Regions from separate parts of the Homo sapiens genome. Here regions 2 and 3 are each linked to region 1. The links are contacts of gene promoters, found by promoter capture Hi-C in human tissues and cell types (Jung and others, 2019). All regions are on one chromosome and are shown on one strand. Each heading gives the region's core, a stretch centred on a gene start or on the middle of the fragment in contact. The rest is flanking DNA. Distances are from core to core; before and after follow the strand shown.

Region 1 (4,352 bases), core at 1,839-4,338:
TCCCGGGTGAAGAGTGGGGAAGGGGTGCTGGGATGGGTTAAGGGCAGAGGGTTTGGGGTCCACAGACAGACATAGCAGCGTCTTCAGCAAGTGGAGGCCTAGGACAGCCTTAGGAAAGAGGCAGGATCTGTGTGGCCTGAGGGCGGCTAACAAAGCCCTGGGTTTTTTCTCCTTTTTTCTTGCTCTTTCTCTCTTTTTTGTACCCAGCAAGTTAACTTGGTTTCCTCAGAGATGGACAGGGTGTTCTGGGGCTTTGGAACAGCCTACAGCTTTTTCCACCTTCTGCCCTGAACTTTGCAATGGGTCAGAGGTAGGGAAGCGATGGGACAGTGTTGGTATGAGGTCTCCCTGCACAGGTCATCTGCTCAGGTAGCCTCAGACCCAACAGCTTCCAAGACTGCACAGACAGACAGAAAAGCAGACAGAGCCGCTCACTATTTGGCACAAACCAGACCAAGAGAACTTACAATAGAAAGTTTATTTTTTGTTCCAGTCAGTATTTTTTCCTTAAAAACAAATACAAAAAAAAAAAAAAAAAAAAAAAAGCTGATCACAGTTTGCTTAAAACAGCCAGACTTGGACAATATTTGTAACTTTGTTCACAAAAACATACATCACTGAAGCTGCGCTTATAAGAGCCACTTCCAGAGTTCGTGCAAAGGGTCCTATAAAGGCACGCAGGGACACACCGCTTGGAGTCACAGTTTTCATCACAGAGTCACTAGTCACTACACGTCGAACAAGTTGTGTCTCATCAAGTCACCTCTACAACAGCATTAATTACACAAGGAATATAGGTAGTTTGAATAAAAATATCTTTAACAGCTTGGAGCTATTGAGACAGGAACACTTCCACGCACATGCACAGTTAAACAACTTGAGTGCAACACACAACATTGGCACTAAACGAGATTGAAGGGGGACTTTTTGTGTGTTTTTTTTTCTCTTTTCTTTTTTTGTTATAGTTACTTCAAGTAACACAGCTTGCTTCATATAAATAAGTTAAAACATCTATTTTTTTTCAAGACAAAGCCATTCAGGACAAAGAGATGAACAGAAAGCAGATCTACTTATACAGGCGCTATAATGGCAATAAACAGGCTCATGATTAAAAGATGAATTAGGGCAACGAGAACAGGGCTTCTTCACAGAAGGAACACAAGGGAGTTTCAGAAAGTCACCTTAGTACTGACACTACGCGGGATCCGCTAATACTGCTCAGTACTTTAAACGCTCAGATACTCAGGGACGGAAGGCCCCTCCTGCCGCGGCCATGCTCATGCTTTTCAGCTTATTATCTTTTTTCCACTTCATTCTCCGGTTTTGGAACCAGATTTTAATTTGTCTCTCGGAGAGGCAAAGAGCATGTGCTATTTCAATCCTCCTTCTGCGGGTCAGGTAACGGTTGAAGTGGAACTCCTTCTCCAGCTCCAGGGTCTGGTAGCGCGTGTAGGCCGTCCGGGCCCTTTTGCCTTCCGGGCCGCCTATGTTGTCTGCAATAGAAAAGTCAGCGGTTTAGCCACCAACTCCTGTCTTCCAAAGTCCGCCAGGGGGACAAGCTTGGGTCATGAGCAGGGAACCCAGGCGAAAAGCTCAACAAGTTCTGCCTACCAGCCCGCACACCCCTCCCGAATTTCCTTCTCTCTTCCTTTCTAGAAAGAAAACAATACGATTTGGACCCTGGGAACAATCTGCCCATCTGAGGCTGGGGCCGTGTCCCGGCGGACTCCGGCTTTCCCTGGCCCCTCTCCTGCCCCCTCCGCCCTGCCCCGGGCGCCCCGATCGGGAGGCACAGCCCTCCCAGGCTGCCCACCGCACAGAAACCCAGGAAGCAAGGCCCTTTCCTGAGCGCCCAAGTGGCCTTCGGGTCACCCTCCCTCAAAGTTCCAGCCCCGAGAGCCGCCTCCCGTTTCCAGCCTGCAGGGTTGGGGAGCCTGTTTTCTTTTTCTTCCCTTTCCTTCTCTCTCCCTCCTGCCCCCAAAATTCAGAATCCTGCAGGCTCTCGCCTCGATTCTTTCCCCCAAGCCCCTTTTCGGGGGCTGTAATTAGTAACGCTGTTTCCCCAGCGTAGCCCTCCTCATAAATTATCCGCCGTGACAAGCCCGATTCACGGCTGCTACAGCCATCCTCTACCTCTCTGCGCCTTGCTCGGCTGGCCTGACCCGGGAGCGCGTCCCAAGGCGTGGGGTTCCAGAGGGGTTTTTTGCTTCCTCCCCCTTCCAACGTCTAAACTGTCCCAGAGAACGCCCATTTCCCCCACTATTTGTGAGCGCAGGGTGCTCGCAAAGAAGAGGAGGAAGGAGGAAGGCAGGGGAGGGAGAACGGCAAGGAGAGCTCCGCAGGGCTGGGAGAAATGAGACCAAGAGAGACTGGGAGAGGGCGGCAGAGAAGAGAGGGGGGACCGAGAGCCGCGTCCCCGCGGTCGCGTGGATTTAGAAAAAGGCTGGCTTTACCATGACTTATGTGCAGCTTGCGCATCCAGGGGTAGATCTGGGGTTGGGCGGGCGGCGCCGGGCTCGGCTCGCTCTGCGCACTCGCCTGCTCGCTGCTGGCAGGGGCGTCCTCCTCGGCTCCGGACGCCGTGCCAACCCCCTCTCTGCTGCTGATGTGGGTGCTGCCGGCGTCGGCCGAGGCGCCGCTGGAGTTGCTTAGGGAGTTTTTCCCGCCGTGGTGGCTGTCGCTGCCGGGCGAGGGGGCCACGGCGGAGCAGGGCAGCGGATCGGGCTGAGGAGAGTGCGTGGACGTGGCCGGCTGGCTGTACCTGGGCTCGGCGGGCGCCGCGCTGGCGCTGGCAGCGTAGCTGCGGGCGCGCTCTCCGGAGCCAAAGTGGCCGGAGCCCGAGCGGCCGACGCTGAGATCCATGCCATTGTAGCCGTAGCCGTACCTGCCGGAGTGCATGCTCGCCGAGTCCCTGAATTGCTCGCTCACGGAACTATGATCTCCATAATTATGCAACTGGTAGTCCGGGCCATTTGGATAGCGACCGCAAAATGAGTTTACAAAATAAGAGCTCATTTGTTTTTTGATATGTGTGCTTGATTTGTGGCTCGCGGTCGTTTGTGCGTCTATAGCACCCTTGCACAATTTATGATGAATTATGGAAATGACTGGGACATGTACTTGGTTCCCTCCTACGTAGGCACCCAAATATGGGGTACGACTTCGAATCACGTGCTTTTGTTGTCCAGTCGTAAATCCTGCCTGATGACCTCTAGAGGTAAACTCGTGCACTAATAGGGGAGTTGGGTGGAGGCGAGGGGGGTGGCGCGCGCGCCCCGGGCGCGTGCCCGCCGCCAGTTGCCGCCGTTCAGCCGGACTCGAGCGCCACCCGCTGGAGGCAGGGCTCATCGCCCAGCTTCCGACCGGGGGCTGCAAGGGCCGGGGTCGAATTGAGGTTACAGCCCATTATGGCAAAATTATTGCATTTCCCTCGCAGTTCCATTAGGATGTACCAATTGTTAGGCCGTCAGCTGCCGATCGCGCGCCCGGCGAGGATGCAGAGGATTGGGGGGAGGTGGTGACTTGCATTTTATTTACAACAACTTTATTTCCCCCGTTTTGCAGCCCCTCTTATTTTTGTGTCGAGGTTGGGGTCGGTACTGACCGTCCTGCCAGCAGCTCTGAATTTTGAAAATACAGATATCACCTTCGGGGAAGGGGGAAAGCCATTTAGCCAATTGGAGAAATAAATCCTGCCCGCAGCAGCAGCAGCTACAATTACGGCTCTGTTTTTGCGAGCGCATGAGGGACAGTGTCCCTGCCGCTCTTAAATGACAGGCGTCTATTAAAGATAGCTTTTGTGTAGTGTTTCTCCAAGGCGAGGTCAAATTCCATACACTTTTATAACCGTAGTCGATTTTTCTTTCGTGTGAATATGGTTTTCGTGTCATTAGTTTGCGATTTGATTTGCTTACGTATCCAGCCTGGAAAATCTTCATCACAGGGTCCGGTTCCTCGAGCCAGCCGGGCCCCAAGTCGGAGGGTTCTCCTTGAACCCAGCGAGTGGGCCCAGGCTCCCTGCAGCCACAGAGGCTGCCTGGGGTCTGGGGATCCGTGGGGCGGGTTACTGGGGTCTTGCTTAGACCTCCAGGAGTAAAATGAGGGCGATAATGGAAGCATTCCTTGGCAGTGCCTAGTATCTCTGTAGTTATTTTCCACGGCTCCGAAAGACTCAAGTAAATCACAAATATAGCTGAGAGGCAAGTGGAGTCTCCCCGCTGGAGGCCCGGCGTTGCAGGCGCCCCTGGCACGTCTGGAAGCCAGGACTCTGGCGGCTCCCATGGCCCTGGGCCCCTCGTTGGGTCCTGAACGCTGCTGTGGCGGCGACGCGGGCGCTATCGGAGGCTGGGAGC
Region 2 (4,122 bases), core at 1,581-4,080, 270 kb before region 1:
TGACCAACATGGAGAAACCTCGTCTCTATTAAAAATACAAAAAATTAGCCGGGTGTGGTGGCGTGCGCCTGTAATCCTAGCTAATCAGGAGGCTGAGGCAGGAGAATCACCTGAATCTGGGAGCTGGAGGTTGTGGTGAGCCTAGATCGTGCCATTGCGCTCCAACCTGGACAACAAGAGCAAAACTCCGTCTCAAAAAAAAAAAAAAAAACATATATATATATATATATATAGACAGCTCGTTGAGTACAGATATCTCAAACTAAAGATCTATGTAGTACAAAGACAAGTTATCTTGTCCCCACATATTCAACATACGATAGGAGACACTCATAGGATAACCACTACAGACATTCCTGTTCAAAGGGGTGGGGAGAATAGGAAGTATACAAAGATCACTGGTCCAGAGCAATTCTGAAGCCCAACCAGGAAAATGTGGCAAGTTATTTGATTAGGACACAGTTCTCTTCCCACCTGGAAATAACTTATCCTCTGCTCTTCGTTCTTCCCTCTGAGCCACCCATCTTTTTCCATGAACGGTTGTGTAATTTTCTCAACCTGCTTCCTGACAATACAATTGAGGTGGGGGGTGGGGTGGTCAAAAGATCTGTTTTCATTTTGTATTGTCACTGTCCCAATTCTCTATCAGTCAGAGTTCAAGAAGAAAATCAAAACTACTAGAATGAAGCTAGAGATGGAAAGAGATATAATATATGGCAATTTGTTACAAAGATTAAACCCTATCCAATTGTGAAAGCTGGTTAAACTGTCTCTTTATATAAGGCAGTTATCTTTACATCTGATGCTGGAGCTCAAAGTCCACAGAGCGGGGAATCAGAAAGGGAAGATGGAGGAACTTCATGACAAGCTGGTAACCAGAAGTATAAGCCATAGTTTATGAGCACAACCTGAAACCCAAGTTATCTCTCATTTGATGGTATGGATGTTCTTCAGAAGCCAGAGTCCCTCATTAAGGAGCTAAATGCACACACTTTACCAAGAGTCAGAGAAGTAGAAGGAGGATCCAATAGAAAATGAGCAGTTGCAGGCTCAGCTGCTGACTTACACCAATGAAGTGAGCCAACCAGTAAGCAACCATACATGTGAACTACAAAATGACTGCTGCTTCATTTCTGCTCTCCAAGTCTTACAAAAGAATATATTTTGTGGCCTAGCCTAACCAGAAACATGCAGAAAAGGGGATTCTAGTAAATTTAGGTCGACAGCCACCAACCATACACTTGTACTATCATAAATAAAATGTGGACTAAATAAATGAAGCAACTAGGCTGGGCGCAGTGGCTTAAGCCTGTAATCCCAGCACTTTGGGAGGCTAAGATGGGTGGATCACCTGAGGCCGAGTTTGAGACCAGCCTGACCAATATGCTGAAACCCCGTTTCTATTAAAAATACAAAAATTAGCCAGGCATGGTGGCATGCACCCGTAGTCCCAGCTACTTGGGAGGCTGAGACAGGAGAATTGCTTGAACCTGGGAGGCAGAGGTTGCAGTGAGCTGACATCATGCCACTGCACTCCAGCCTGGGTGACAGAGTAAAACTCCATCTCAAAAATAAATAAATAAACTAATAAAATAAATTAAGCAATTGAAATTGCATTTACTTTGCAGCCTAATCCATCTAAACAAAATGCAAAACCTGTTGGCTCTAAAGTTATCTTGTAAGGGCTCTTTTAAGAATTTTTAGAAATAAAGATTTGTTTTCATTTTCTAAGTTATTATCCTTGTTTTCATTTGAAACTTCCATGTTTAGTTGGTATAAGTTTATCATTGTGTGGCAGTCAACAAGAAAAAATATTCTCACTGGAATTCATATGAAGTCATTTACTCTGAAAAGATGTGACATACAACCCAACCAGAACCAAAGGTACTGATAGATGCAGTTCACAATTTGAGTTTTTAGTTCATAATTGTTATTAATCTTATTAGTATAATTTACTAAGTTAGCAAGATTTGCTGTCCATCTCATTCCCATACACACAAACATACACAGTCATGCATCGCTTAACAACAGGGACACATTCTGAGAAATGCGTCATTAGGTGATTTTGTCATTGTGTATGTCTGTGTCATCATAGAGTGTATTTACACAAACCTAGATCTATAGCCTGCTACACATCTAGCTAGATGGTATAGCTTATTGCTCCTAGGCTATAAACCTGCACAGCATATTAATGTACTGAATACTATGGGCATTGTAACACAATGGTATTTGTGTATCTAAACATAGAAAAGGTACAGTCAAAATACAGTATTATAATCTTATGGGACCATTGTCATATACGTGGTCCATCATTGACCAGCGTCATTATGTGGCACATGACTGTACTCAGGCACTTTGCTGCCCTGGTCAATCATTTTAAGAATAAGCAATTTAATATGAACTAGAGTTGAGTAATTAACATAATGCTGTACGTCTTTAGGGTTCTACAAATTAGGAATAAGGTGAGAGAACTATCCATCCCATTCCAGACTTGTCAGAGGCTACCTGGTTCCCTGCCCAGGTAGCAGCCCTCTTCTCCCTTTAACTGAATTGATTTCCTTTATCTAAGATTCTCAGTGCTCAGGGACCTAACCATCAGAAGGGTCAGCTTTCGTGATAATCTGGCTCTGATCTTACATCCTAGCTCTAGTAACTGAGTTTCTCCTGCCTGGTTCGGAGACAAAGTCCTTACTGTACTTATTTTTAATAAAGAGACATATTTGTCTTTATTACATCTAGGCCTCTTGGACTCTGGCTCTGCCTTACTCTTAGTCTTAATTTATAGGCTGCTGTTATATTCCACCTGGATCTCCAGAGAAGAGATGGGCCCAAATCCCATTCTTGCCTTCTATTACTTATCAGGCTTAGTCCCCAAGGTGTATGTGCACTAGGAACATGCCAAGAAAATTCTCATTCTTCATTACTACCTAAAATTTAATGCAGAATCCCTTCTCTTCATGTGAATTGTTTTACTACTCCTCGATGGTTTGATGAAGTTACCTTGAACTGTGAGCAGGTACATTAAAAGATAAAAACTTTTGATTCTCTCCCTTTAATTCTTATCACCAAAATCTCTACTTTCTGCCTCAGAGGCCCAATTGAGTGATCCTAAATATATCATTTTTATTCTTGGTTCATAACAGAGTCAGGGAAAGTTGTCCTTGAGCTTTCCTAAGGGGGAAAATGCAGGGCCACTGATACAAGTTAATTTTCCCCAATCCACCCTATTGCTAAAGATGACTCTTCCTGCACTCCTTGAAATTTTACCAATTAGAGAGAGAGTGGATGGGTAACTATCTTCCTTTGTACTTTGATCTAGGTTGGTTTGAGAAATCATGTTTAATGATTTAGTACCTGGATTTAATGGTTTAATACCTAGGTTAAGCATATTATGGCTTTGGATGAAAGATAATTGAGACAGTATTTTGGAATTTAAAACATTATAAAGGAAAGCAGGCTGCATCAGCCTTCCAAATAATGGTTTCAAGACTAGCAGTGTAAAGCAAGCAAGATGTTCATGGTCATATGTTATGCTGTGTGCCCTGCTCTCTCTTTAGGATAGCACTGATCCCCACAAAATCCTTATCAACATTTAATGAAAAGACAGTCTCCTAGAAGAATGAAACTGAAGAACATAGCTGCCTTACTAATTAAACTTTGGCAGATTCGCACTTGGCCTCTGAATCATAATTTATTCTATATGAACTATTTACTGAATTGTTGTACCATTGCCCATATGAATTATTTTGTTATAGGAATTTTGTTTTTGTTATTGTAGCTATTTAAACAACATTAATTTAGATGAAACATGATTTTCTAAATATACTCCTATAAATCATTTTATAGCTAAACAATAAAAACTACCCCCATTTGCAGTGAGCCAAGCTTGTGCCACTGCACTCCAGCCTGGGCAACAGAGCAAGAATCCGTCTTGGAAAAAAAAAAAAAACTAGGTTGGCAAAGATTCCAGAACATTAAATAATTAAAAACAGGTCTGGATTTCTTTCTATATGTAAAGACAAAATAGTAAATTGTAACCAGAGTCCTTCCTATTATTATAGTACATCTATTCTCACTAGGCAATTTTAAAATACCAAGCTGTCTTCAGCAATAGTAATTCGG
Region 3 (4,358 bases), core at 710-3,209, 490 kb before region 1:
ATACAGATGTGCAGATCAGTTACAGCTCTTCTCTTAAAATAAACCAAGAAACTATCAAAAATATTATACAAACCCCAAAGAGCTTATTCTGGAATCAAGACAATGAATCTTATTGCAGAAACTCTTTCATAACAACACAGGACAGTAAAGAGCAGGTAACTGGGTTTGAGAATGAGCACTGCTTTTTGAAAGAGTGGAACTTACAAAGATATTTCATACAAAGAGTTAATATGGGTGAAGTACCTCTTACTTTCTATGGTTCATCTACCAGGATGTGTCTCCGGCCCCAGTGCAAAAAAAAAAGACCTTCTACAAAAGCAAGCACCTATACTCCCAGATTATGAGTCTATGAACCCCACGGCTGCCCGAGATTTTCCTGAAGAGTGAATAATATTTAGATCATATGTGGGTTGCCTCCAGATCACCCACTGAGAAGCAGAAGCAAGATTTTGAACAGCTGGAGGTTTAAGTAAAAAACAAGAATAGCTACAGGCTTTATCTTGGATCCAAACGGTCTGAATAATAATAATAATCATAAAGAAATACCTGGTAACTATAAATCTCATCAACCAATGTAAAAGAACATTCTAAATCTATTAATATTTTCAAAGACATTATCTTTCTGCCACCCCACTGCTTTGTGACTTGTTGTATCAGCTATATTATTTGCCTTAAAGCACCATCTAAGTGTTTTTCTTCCCCTGTGAGGGGAATCTTCCACAGCCTTCGCAAGCTACAGCCCACTGCTCCCCTGCAGGAGGACTGGGGTATCATTAACAACCAAAGACACTTAAGGCACAAGTTGGAACTCCAGTGTTTCCAAACCTTCCTGCTTCCCATCAAAATTCATATCCTGTCACTGTTCTAGGAGCAGAAAGGCTTCTCATTATAGCATCATTCCCCTCTTGCAAAAAACACTGATTGCTGCACTGGTGGCTTTGGAAGGCAAAGATGTAATTTAGCAAAATAATGTACCATGCTGATTAATTTAATGTAGCCCATGACTAATTATGGTAATTCATTACATCTACAATTAGGCTAAGTAATTTATTGCACTGCAGTCTCATAAAGCAGAGGATTTATATCGAGTTTTGAATGTCACCCAAAGGACATTTCTGTACCTTGTCTTTACTGAAGCGGAATAAGGCTGCCAGCTGAGATGAGCCAAAGAAAAAAAAAATCCCCGCCCCCCCCGCCCCAACTTACGCACTGACACACACTTTGCCATTTTTGATGTTTGTATTTTGCAATTGAATTCAAGTGCAAGGAGAGTTTTTCCTGATCTCCTCTTTCTTTCTCCTCCTCAGACTGTGCCTTTGTCATGATTTGGTGTTGTTTTTGTTTGTATGCTGCATACCAATTTCCTCTCTGTAAGCTCTGGAGACCTGACACAGGAAAGTGAACAATATATAAGAAGCTATTGCGGTCTTCCCAAATATTATTTGTAGGCATTTGGCGGTGATCAGAGAAAACGGGTAATTGTGCTACTGAGGTCTGTTGCTTATTCTGCAGATAGTACTGCAGTCGACTTCAACAAAGACCTCATCTTCTCTTTGCCGCATGAAAAGGGGACATATCCCCTCACTTAGGAAAGACGCAAACATAGCATTATTTTGAAATACAGCCTCGCTTGTACCCTGCAGCGGGGTTTGCTCTAGCGATGGGGTACTTTGGAGACCAATTTGTTTAGCTGATCACTGTCTCTTTGACGTGGCTGCAAATGTTACCTTTCTTTTTCAATCAAAAACACAGCAGGGGGTGCCATCTGTTTGGCACAGGCCTTAGCTCACTTCCCCAATGCCTTTTTGTGCAGATCATTTTACGTGGCAATTTGCTAAAATCTTTCATTCCTTGGTTTTACTAAATATAAGTTTCCAAAATGGGCTGTTTTCTCAGAATGTCAGCAAGACTCACAAATGAATGCAGTTTTTCCTGAACAGCCAGTATCAGATCAAATGGAGCATTTTTCAGATTTTTTTTTTAATGAACAAATACCTCACTGTCATCTGATTGTTTACTTAAAACTGACATGTTTACTGAGGATGGTGAAAACACATTTATCCTACTGAATTTCACTTCGTTTTCTTTGTTTGGCTTCTACAGAGGTGCACTGTCACCAACACAGGCATCACAATTTTTAAGATCCTTGAAGAGAATAGGTAATGCAAATGCATAGAGCAACCATATTAAATAGTCATTAGGAAACAACAGCTAGCAAGAAAGTGGTTAACTATTTTCCCCAGCTCAGATGCTGTTCAAAGCAATGAATACCCACCCCCCACCCCCCCACCAACTCCAAGTAGGAACAGATGATCAGCACCACGTGCTGAAGCCACAGGGATGCCCGTGGATTTCCAAGTGCTTTGTAGAATACAAATGAATTATCCTCATTCTTCTCCTAGCAGAGCATATAGGCCAGACCTCATTAGAATTCAATATCACTCTGCTTTTCTAATGTTAATGTACCAGTTATATAAGAAATACGTGTGTTGGTGGGGCGGGGGCTTATTCCACAATTATGTTCGACGTGATATCATAATTCTGAAAACTGGACATAATCTTTATTAAAGGAAATTATTGCATTTTGCCGTTTTATCTTTTGCTTCTAATGTAACTTAAATTCCCATTCTAATAGTGGATTATAAGGGCCTTAATTCTTTGTGTCTCTCTTAAAGCTGCAGTGACTACAATACTACTGGCTTTATGGCTTTTTAAAAAATGCCGTGACTAAAGATCAGATTGTGAGGGCTCCATGTCCATCTCACTGTGAAAGGAACACAGCACATTACATTAATAAACAACTGTAGGAGTTTTCTTCATCCAGGAATAACTCAGGGCATTAAGGCTTGAGGTCTTTTGTCTAGAGTGCAGCAAGAGGTGTAATGAAAACAAAAACACCAACACATAAAAATACAATTTATGCCCTTTTATCAAGTGAAGAAAAAGTTGGTTAACGTTTGAAAAGGGAGCAGTAATGTAAATTTATTGACAATTTTATTGTAATAATGAGATGTTTACACAGTCTGGACATTGTGGCTAAATCACTTCTAGCATGTTTATTTGCAGGGAGCTGTTTTCTGGGCAATGCGGCAGGTTCATTAAGAAGACATACAGTATTAGGATTCAAAGAAACAACCAGCTCCCATTCTCCCCTTCCCAGTTATATGTGTGTGTGTATAGTTTTAAATATATATATACTTATAAATAATGAAGTAAAATACAGAATTCCCTTCATAAGAAAAACAACTTCCCCTGTGGCCCCAAAATAGCTTGAAAATAAATGTCGTATTGGTATCTTAATACATAGCATTAGAAAGACAACCTTTAATCACTATAACTAGCTTTTAATACCTAATGTGTAAATGGTAATCTGTTTTTGACTAAGAATAAATTATGGCAGAGTTTAGGGCGGCTCTTGCTTTACCCTTTTCTTCAAAAAACAAAAAAACCCATGGTAATTGTTTTAGATGAGATGCTTCTCTTCTCAACATTTTTTTAAGAGAAAAAACTCATTCAGAGAGAAATATTTCTCTTAAGCAGCCTCAAACCAGATTAATGGATTAAAATGGCACACTTGAATAATGTGACTAAATTTATCTCTATGTGGCTCTTTCATTTTTTGTGTGTTTCTATACTAATCTTTAATATGCTGCTCTGATATGGTTTTCATGTTTCCAAACTGAGCTAAAATGAAAATGACAGATTTTCAGTTATGCAAAAATAGCAATGAAGTGTCAGTAGAAATACATTGTGAACAACATAATTTTTAGGAAAGATGTGAAATGAGAATAATCTTCTAGCATGAAACGGGTCCAATAACAAAATATTCAGGCAATTATATCAATTTTTAAAATTTCAAAACTGTTTAAAAATTAAGGCACTAAATGCTAAGCTACAATATGTTTCCAGCCTCAGTATACATCCATTAAAATTAAGTAGTATCAATACAGAGTATTTATTGCTATAGATCATAGCTTTAGGAGAAGCAAAGGATGGTATACTTATAGCTTGAAATTCTCTACTATAATCACTTAGGAAAAGTTTAGAAAACAGACTTATCTTTAATCACAGTTGCCACAATTTAGTATAGTCCCATTGTTTTCCTTTATCAAAGAGTATGTAATGATAATAATATAAACACATTATAAAAGTAATAGTTTCCCAGCTTAAACTGGTAAGGTTAAGATGGTAAGAGAAACTTTGATTTTAGAAACCAGTGGTAACAGGTACACAATGTGTCTATTTTTTAAGCTGATAGAATTGATTAATGGTTCAAAATAATCAAGGAATCACATCACAAAGCACCGTTTTAAAGAGAAGTGCTAAGAATTAACTCTATACTACCATGACATCATCCG

What was found. Contacts are between HindIII fragments. The study calls those that stand out against the background at their distance.
Region 2: a fragment that was not itself captured here is called in contact with the fragment with the promoter of HOXA5 in region 1 in 1 of the 25 tissues and cell types used here (aorta).
Region 3: a contact is called between a fragment that was not itself captured here and the fragment with the promoter of HOXA5 in region 1, in 2 of the 25 tissues and cell types used here (dorsolateral prefrontal cortex and spleen).

The regions. Positions count from the first base shown.
Region 1 is chr7:27,140,593-27,144,944 of GRCh38, forward strand. HOXA5 (homeobox A5) reads right to left here and starts at 3,089. Exons shown (of 2, transcript NM_019102.4): 1 at 2,454-3,089; 2 at 460-1,493. The coding sequence starts at 3,015. The coding sequence ends at 1,243. The region is part of intron 1 of HOXA3 (homeobox A3); the gene reads right to left. The region is part of intron 1 of HOXA-AS3 (HOXA cluster antisense RNA 3); the gene reads left to right. The HindIII fragment of the contact is 16,485 bases long and covers 1-4,352 here.
Region 2 is chr7:26,872,045-26,876,166 of GRCh38, forward strand. No RefSeq gene overlaps it. Among named protein-coding and RNA genes, the nearest start is that of SKAP2, 9.5 kb to the left of the region's middle. The HindIII fragment of the contact is 6,993 bases long and covers 1-4,122 here.
Region 3 is chr7:26,656,550-26,660,907 of GRCh38, forward strand. It overlaps a transcript of SKAP2 not described here. Among named protein-coding and RNA genes, the nearest start is that of LINC02860, 21 kb to the left of the region's middle. The HindIII fragment of the contact is 9,906 bases long and covers 1-4,358 here.